2 separate regions of the Homo sapiens genome follow, and region 2 is linked to region 1. Evidence: promoter capture Hi-C in human tissues and cell types (Jung and others, 2019). All regions are on one chromosome and are shown on one strand. Each heading gives the region's core, a stretch centred on a gene start or on the middle of the fragment in contact. The rest is flanking DNA. Distances are from core to core; before and after follow the strand shown. Region 1 holds the start of IGIP (IgA inducing protein). Region 2 has its middle 75 kb from the start of HSPA9.

Evidence for each region. Contacts are between HindIII fragments. The study calls those that stand out against the background at their distance.
Region 2: a contact is called between a fragment that was not itself captured here and the fragment with the promoter of IGIP in region 1, in 1 of the 25 tissues and cell types used here (spleen).

What each region holds. Positions count from the first base shown.
Region 1 is chr5:140,124,176-140,128,359 of GRCh38, forward strand. It overlaps IGIP (IgA inducing protein), which reads left to right and starts at 1,762. Exons shown (of 1, transcript NM_001007189.2): 1 at 1,762-4,184. PURA (purine rich element binding protein A) reads left to right here. Exons shown (of 1, transcript NM_005859.5): 1 at 1-1,444. The HindIII fragment of the contact is 10,247 bases long and covers 1-4,184 here.
Region 2 is chr5:138,648,137-138,652,320 of GRCh38, forward strand. No RefSeq gene overlaps it. Among named protein-coding and RNA genes, the nearest start is that of HSPA9, 75 kb to the left of the region's middle. RefSeq lists an enhancer at 2,356-3,154. The HindIII fragment of the contact is 3,444 bases long and covers 199-3,642 here.

The DNA.
Region 1 (4,184 bases), core at 512-3,011:
GTTTTATCAATGGAACAGAGAGATGTGTTTTTGGCTAAAATTATTTTTTGTAAGTTATTTGGTTATTTCATTTTATATTCCCTTTCCCATAGCTTTGTACACACCTCATACTTAAAACCAAGTGAGAGGCCTCTTTTCAGATCTGGTTTATTTTTGGAATGCCTGAGTGTGTTTCCAGATTGGGGGGGGAGAGGTGGTGTTTTACTTTTTGACATGCTCTTAGCATGTTTTGCTAGTCATTCTGGATCTTATGTTTGCAAATTCTGTTGAACATTCAGTGATGTATTTGAAATGAGAAAGTCCTTTATAACATAGTGTGAATGTTTGTGGCCAATTCAATTGTGGAATCTTATGGCTTTGTTTTTACTTTGGGTAGAAGTTTAACTTCCATTGTTCAGATTTTAGGTTTATCTAGTGAAATTGTGCCAGGTAGTTGTCTAAATATGGACCAATTTTGGGAAATGAAGATTAATAAGTGTATATTTGATTCTAGATAATCCTTTACTCAAAATCATAAGTTAAAGATTCACATCATTAAGAGTTATCTAACTTTTATGTTGTCAAATCTTTAAATGTGGATGATATTCAGCATTCTATCTATGAATTTCCTTTAGGAAAAGAGAAAAATTCAGTCTCCAAACCTTTTCTTGGAGACAAAATTTACCACATATCGAAAATGAAAAAAATTTAGAAAGCGATTTGATTATTTTTTAATGGAGTTTAACCAGCTTAATTAATGATTTTTCCAGTTTGAAGCACTTATTTTCCCAATGTGAATAAAGGGAAAAGATCAGCAATTTGTCCCTGGCCTTTTTCGAGGCCATTTTTAGTTTTCTGCCCCCATTTCCCAGTCCTGGTATAAAATGAATTACGGGTATCCCTCTAAGTCCCTATAACCCTTTTTGGGGGTCACAGATATCTTTGATAATCTGATGACAGTGTGATGGATCCTCTACCCAAGAAAAAAAAAATGCCCATCCCTGGATAATTTTGCATACAACTTCAGGGGCATCACACATCTTCTGAAACCCAAGTTAAAGATCTCTGCTCTAAGTAAATTGTAGAGAATTTTAGTGCAAATCGTTGATAAAATTAGGAACCAACTATTGGCTTAAAACCTTTCATATTGGAATTATTGTTAGATGGTGGCCCCTACTAGCAAAATGTGACATTGCAACCAGCTTCGTTAGACATTATAACAACCAGAGAGAAGGGAAAAAAGCAAAGTTCTGAAAGCTATTTATAAGGAGTCAGGGCATCTCTAGACATGGGAGCCTTCCTGGTTCAAGGCAGGGGTCAGGGTGCCTGACAATTTCTAGCAGGGTAGAGTTTGATAAACCACAATGCTCAGGATGCCAAGGGGTTAGCCATTATCTTAACCCCTTCCTCACCAAAAGATTTTAGTTTTGTCTGTTGGGAAACAAGATGTCACTAGGGAAAAAAAGATTTGCCTTACAACTTTGCTGGAACACATCAGTTTGGTGACGTTGGGACACTAGTGTTATTTTTGAGAAGGCGCATAAAACCAAAGTAAATTATTCTCTATGTAGAACATTTATTTACTAGTAACATTTGTTTGCGTGTATTCGCTTTGACAATTTTTACCAGTAAATATTGGTTTTATTTAAAACTGGGAATCCAGTTGATATATAGGATAGTTGATACATCTGTTCTTTCCCCCATGTAAAGCATAGTTAAAAGATTTATGCATACTTTTTACTTTTCTCTCTTAATGCCATGGGGTGGGGAGGGTGGGTGGGGGAAAGATTTTTGAGTCTACAACTGACAAAATGTCTTCTTCAAATTAAAAAAAATTGAGAAGCAGCACTTTAAGTCTAACTCTACACCATTTTATTGCATGTATTAGTTTTATTAATGATTTTTGGTGCATGCCTTTGGGCTTATTCAAAAGTGTACAATAGGAAAGTATATTTCCTTTCTTAGAAAGGAGATGTTTTCTACTTTGCAACATGTGATTACAAAAATCTTCCTCTGTGGGAAGATTAACCATGTATTGAACTACTGAAAAGTATATATTTTTAGATATACAGAAGGAATCTACATGGAGCAGCATTCAGACCTATATAGAAGTCATAGCATTCTGTATAGGACCAAAAAGGAAATAACATTAAACACTTAAACAGACGTTGTTGGGTAGAAATACCTTTAGATCTTGCATTTACTTCCAAAAAGAAAAAATGCCACAGAAGTTTGCTGAAAACTTTTGTCGTTTGAATTTTCTCTGTCAGTGTATTTAGCCCAAATACAACAGCTTTGGGTTAGCACACACATAAGAATCAAAAAAACAAAGCTCACTAAATAAATCAGTCTGGTTTGCCAATCCAGCTTGACTGAAATAAGTAAACCAATCACTTGCAACATGAAAAACTGTCCAACTCCTCTAAGGTTCTGACAAAATAACCTTGGCTGATGTGGGAAGACTCCCACTTTGATTACTGACCTGACAGTGAAGATTCATGCTTGACATGATTTCAGACTTGACAATGTCTGTTTAAGGAGCTATGGTACAGTTTGCTAATTCAATCCCAGATACCTGTTGATTACCTGTGAGATCTAGAGTCCAAAGTAGCCAGCAGCCATATCCCTGAGTGCTCTGTGCCCATCAGATATCTTAAAGTAAGCAGGGTTGGGACAGGTCACAGCTTGGATGATTGACCTCAGGTGCCGTAGACAGCCCCAGATTCAAGAATTGTATCTGCTTTCTTGGCAGTCGTCACTGAACTAATGTCCCATACTGTGTTACTTACTGTAGATGCTCTCTTTTAGAGGAGGCCCAGAGCACACATCCTAATCGCTAGCGGTACTCAGAGAGGGGGTGCTAACTCTGATGCCCTGGCCAAATTCCAGTTTAGGGATGTGGGTCTTCTTCTTGTCATTCTAATTGGAAATGTGCATCACTTCCCATTTTTCTTACTGATCTCAGTGCAAACTACACTAGTCTGTTTCTTTGCCCTGGTCTCAAGTCTCTAAGACGCTGGTGTGTATTATGTGGGCTAAGTTCATGTGTTATCCTAAGGCACAAGAGTTGAGGAATGGGTGAGCTTGGTGTCAGAGCACTGTGTGGTTGGAGGGTGGACTCTTGTGATGCTGTGGGGATGAAATTGGCCCTCTTTTAGCATAAGTTGGGGAGTGTGCACTGGCTGGAGGCTTCCAGAGGCTTCCAGCCATGAGGTGTGAGCTGAAACCAATTTTTCCTCTTTCCTTATAGCATGTTGAGAAAATCTGTTGGGTTTTCAGCAGTCAGGGAAGGCCGGAGTTCTGCTTTAATCTGGGTAACTGAGGCTAATATGAGCAAGACTTTGGTTAATTAACTGGGTTCTCAGATGCCACAGACTCCGTGAGAAGTCACCATTATTTTCAATGGTTGTGATAGAATTTCCCCCAGTAGCCATTATTTTAAGATTATATTGCAGAGTTGCTTTATTTTGAGCTTTTTGTGTATACACAATCCCAAACTGGAAGAAATTTTAAAAAAAGGAATCCTGCTGTGAAAGGTATATATTACTCTAGATTTTTCTTACTGTAAATATTGTAAGATTGTAATACTGTCGATATTTTATTAACCAACAAATGTTAATCTATGTGAAATCAGACTTATTTTAAATGTGCTTCTTATTTACTGTGTGTGGTCCCTGTTGCTGACAGTATTAAGTTATATTCTGATGTAAGATTAACTTTATTAAAGAATGTAAACATTAATGTTTCCTTATGGGAAAACAAATAAAGTATAAAGAAGACAATTCTTTTCATTGAAATATACTGTGTATTTACACTTGCTAGACCCAGCACCACTTATAAATTTAGTACACTGTTCAGAATTTTAGTTAACACAGCTGACATGGTTGTGCTCTGTTTGAAAGTCTAAGAATAGGTATTGTTGGAATATACAGTTTGTATTTGTCTGCTGTGAATCATAATCTTGAAATTTCTAATCAAGTTTGTAAAATTTTTATAGTGAAACATTTTAATGACAATTTAAAAATTTATCTTCTCTAAAGAATGGTCAAAACAATATCCTTTCAGAAATAGAATTGTTCTTTAATATCTTTCCAAAATGACTTTGGTTAAATGGACCAGATGTATATTAGTTAAAATTTAGGACTAAGTTGTTGATATTCTTTGAGTTTACAAGTTAATCCTTATTGGAGATGTGCCAATATACA
Region 2 (4,184 bases), core at 671-3,170, 1.5 Mb before region 1:
TCTCTGCAGGGACCACCCTCAGAGACTTTCCACCAGAAGATTATGCTAATATCCACAACAGCTGATGTTTATTGAGTATTCACTGCATGCCAGGCTGTGCTAGAGGCCAGAGTGCTCCGGCTTGGGGAGACGTGGCTGCCTCTCTGCAGCAGGTGAAGGAGCTTTTCCAGTGAGGGAGCCCCTGCATGCTGCAGACTCTGCCTGAAATCTCTCCGAAACCTTTGGGAGATTGGTATCACTTATCTTCTCTGACCAATGAGAACAGTTCCTGGTTTTGTGATCTCCCAAGTCCCTGGTGTGGATGTTCTGTGAGCTTCTGAATTCTCCTCTCCTTTCCCCACTGACAACTCACCTGGCCCTACACTCATTATGAAAGAATATTGAGGCCAATTAGCCTTGACAAGCTTCATGCCCAAGGGGCAGCTTTCAAGTTTCTGGTCCTCTAAGACCTGCTCAGGCCACCTATGTGTCTCTGCCCACTCAGAATTCTAGGAGCAGCTCCCCTCTCCATCTCTGGGCAGGACCTGGCTTTGAGTAAGGGCTAGAGTGAAGGAGACTGGGAGAGGGGAATAGCCAGCTTTAGCCTCACAGCCCCGTAGTCAAGGGGAGTCCTCTGGGAGGGCGAGAAGAATAGCAAAGCAGGGAATGGAAGGTTCAGGAAGAGGCAGGCGGGACAGGGAAGGGAAATGGAGAATGTGTTTCCAACATCCCCTGGGTTTCCTCTGTCCCTGTCTCCTTCCCCCACTGAAAGAGGAATGGAGCTGGCTGGCCTTTCTGGGAGGCATAGTCCTCTAGCCTCCCAACCCTACCAGCCTCCTCTCTGTCCCCAACTGCTCCTTCTCTGGCTTCTCTCCAGAGCCCAGGGCCTCCCTGTGTCATCAGTTCATTATCATTCTGATAAAAGTCATTAGTCCTTGAAAAAGCATGATTCCCCAGCTGAGGCCAGCCCCCGCTAACCTGGGGAGGAATACAGATGGATGGAGATGTGGGGGTGGGGACAGACAGAGGCACAAACACAATGACACTTGTTTCCAGGAGGTGTGTAAATGGACACAAACCCACTGGTGCACACGGCCACACACCTTTACACACAGGCCCAGGGATGTCTCACATGGTCACCAGAGAGCCCACAGGGCTACATCACTGGAGGCACACTCAGCTGCTTCCAGTCCCAGAGAATCACTCGACACTGAGACCCAGCACCCAGCAGCCTCAGCCTCCTGGAAACACAGAAGCTGGGCTCCGCAGACTCTGGGGGCGGGGGCAGGGAGTGGAATATGGAGGCCAAGGTTAGAGATCTCCGAGTTCCATTAGCCACAAGAAGCGTGTCCGGAATCTAAAAGTGCAGGGACAAGGGCGCTGCAGAGCCGGTTCCTGACAGTGTGTCCCCATTTCCCACCCCTTCCACCACTGGGAAGCTCCTCCCTGTCAGCAAAGCCATTTAGGGATTAGAGCAGCTCCCTCAGTAAAAGCTGCTTATTCAAAAGGTGCTTTCAGTTCATTTGCATTCACTTCATGGATATTATAATGCGTGGAGGAGCTTCCTCCTCAGTCCCTCTTTGCTGTCCCCAGATTGAGTCCCTGGCCCATGCAAGGTATCAGTTTGGGCTGGGCCAAGCTTTCCAGTGACCTGGGGATCTTGTCAGGGAGTGGGAGGTGATAAACACTGACCATTAACCCCTGGTCCTCAGAAGGCAGCTCCGGGGACAGCTAGGAGGGGTCACAACTGGAGTTTTCCCAAGGGAGAGGAAGGAGGCCAAGGTCTGGAGAGGCCTCTCAATTCCCCCGGGGTCATAAGCCTGGTCTCCTAGGGAAGGAGGAATCTGCCCAGCTGCTGTCTGCAGATGGGGCTGCCACAGGGGAGCAGGCAGAGTCAGCCTCAGCTTTGAAGACCTTCTCTTTGGCAGCCACCCCACCCCGGCTCCATGCATTCAGTTCATTCAAAGAGTATTTAACTAACACCATGATGTGTGAAGCTTGATGCTAAGTAACTGGAATACAGTGTTGACCAGGCAATGTGGCCCCTGCCTTCACAGAGCTTCCACTCCAGGAGTGAAAACCCACAAAAAATGAAGACACAAGACAATATGGAATAATATGAATTATACCTAGTACCATAACAAACAGGGCGCTAAGATAGAAAGTAATAGGTCAGGGCCGGGGGACCGTCTTCAGATGGGGTGATCAGTAAATGGTGGACACATAACACACCTGCAGTTGAGGCTTCAGGGAGCCAGCTTCGCACGACTGCACTCCAGCCGGGGCAACTCTGTCTCCTAAAAAAGAAAAAAAAAAAAAGGAAGAAAGAAAAATTTCTTTCTTTCTGTGTGTGTGTGTGTGTGTGTGTGGTTTTTTTTTTTTTTTTTGAGACAGAGTTTTGATCTGTCACTCAGGCTGGAATGCAGTGGCACAATCTCGGCTCACTGCAACCTCCTCCTCTGGGTTTTAGGAGATTCTCCTGCCTCAGCCTCCCAAGTAGCTGGGATTACAGGCATATGGCACCATGCCTCGATAATTTTTGTATTTTTAGTAGAGACAGGGTTTCACCAGGTGATCCGCCTGCCTCGGTCTCCCAAAGTGCTGGGATTACAGGCATGAGCCACAATGCCTGGCCAAGAATTTCTTTCTTGATTTGTCCTTTTATCACCTCAAAGGTGCATCATGGGATTTCCCATCCCAGCTCAGGGGAAAGGCATGGCTGTGCCTCTTCATCCCCAGATCAGCCTATGGCGAGGCTGCCGTCTTTTGGACACTCCAGTGAACGTGCCCACCTGCCTGCTCTGGCACATCTGACAAGGCTGGAAAGAAGTTGCCATTTTCGGGGAGGGGTCAGTTTCAATGCCTTCCCACCAATTGGTCCGGAGCATGTCCACAGTTCTGTACACTGGGGAGCATCCAGTTCAGGCTTGGCTGAGTCAGGCAGATCCAGAGCTGCCCACCCCTCTCCCCAGGCCAGGGCTCCAGAGACCCTAGAGCCATTTCCAGCTTCCCTGCTGCTCCTCTCACCATCAATCAGGGGCTGGGATGTCAGAATCAGGACTGGGGGAAGCCACTCACATCCTGAACCACCCCCCAGGGACATAGGAATATGAGGCGAGGATCCTGAGCTCGAACATTTACAGGTAGCATTCAGGATTGAAAACTGATTTATAGTCTGAAGGCAGGCAGGAGGGAGCGGGAGGAAGGTGGGAGCTCTGTGTACAGTGCAGCCTTGTGGGGCGGCGGTAATTATATATTACGTTGAACTGTCCTTGCAGCACGGTGAAGGGCAGTGGGAATGAGACTCTAAATCACGCTTCCGTGATGCTCCCCATAGCTCACCTCCCTGTATGTGGCCCCAGAGGCCAGGGCTGACACTTCTCCCTTCTCCCCAGCCCCAGCACCACCGCCTGCCCCCACCCCCACACACACAGAGCCCAGTGGCAGGGCCAGCCTGACTGACTGGGGGAGAGCAGGAAGATGGGATGTGAGCAACTCTGGCAGCTTCCAGGGGCTGCTCATCCTGCAGGCCTCATTGTTTATTGCCCCCGCAGCCGCCAGCACTTCCCACTCTCTACCCCGCTTCTTCCACTGGGGCCTGTATGTGCGCTGTGTTGTTTGAAAAAGACATCCCTGTCCTTCCTTCATTCATTCTCCCCTGTAGCATCTCTCTTCTTTACACCACAGCCACACAGCCACCACCTTGGTTCGAGTGGGGCCTCATCACTTCTCACCTGGATTTCTGCCACCATCTCCTAACCAGTCTCCCTCTAGCGTGCCCCTACTCTTAGTCCATCATCCTTTACCTCGTTGCCATGGTAATCTCCCTAAACACACCTCTGACCATAATCTTGATCTCATTTGTCTGGGAAGTGGGGATTGTCCCTGCTGATACAATAGCTTTGTGCTCGTGAGCTATTATTATTATTATTATTATTATTATATATTTTTGAGACAGAGTCTCGCTCTGTAGCCCAGGCTGGAGTGCAGTGGCACGATCTCAGCTCACTGCAACCTCTGCCTTCTGGGTTCAAGCAATTCTTCTGCCTCAGCCTCCTGAGGCGCTGGGACTACAGACGTGCGCCACAACACCCGGCTAATTGTTGTATTTTTAGTAGAGACGGGGTTTAGCTATGTTGGTCAGGCTGGTCTCAAACACCTGTCCTCAAGTGATCCACCTGTCTCAGCCTCCCAAAGTGCTGGGA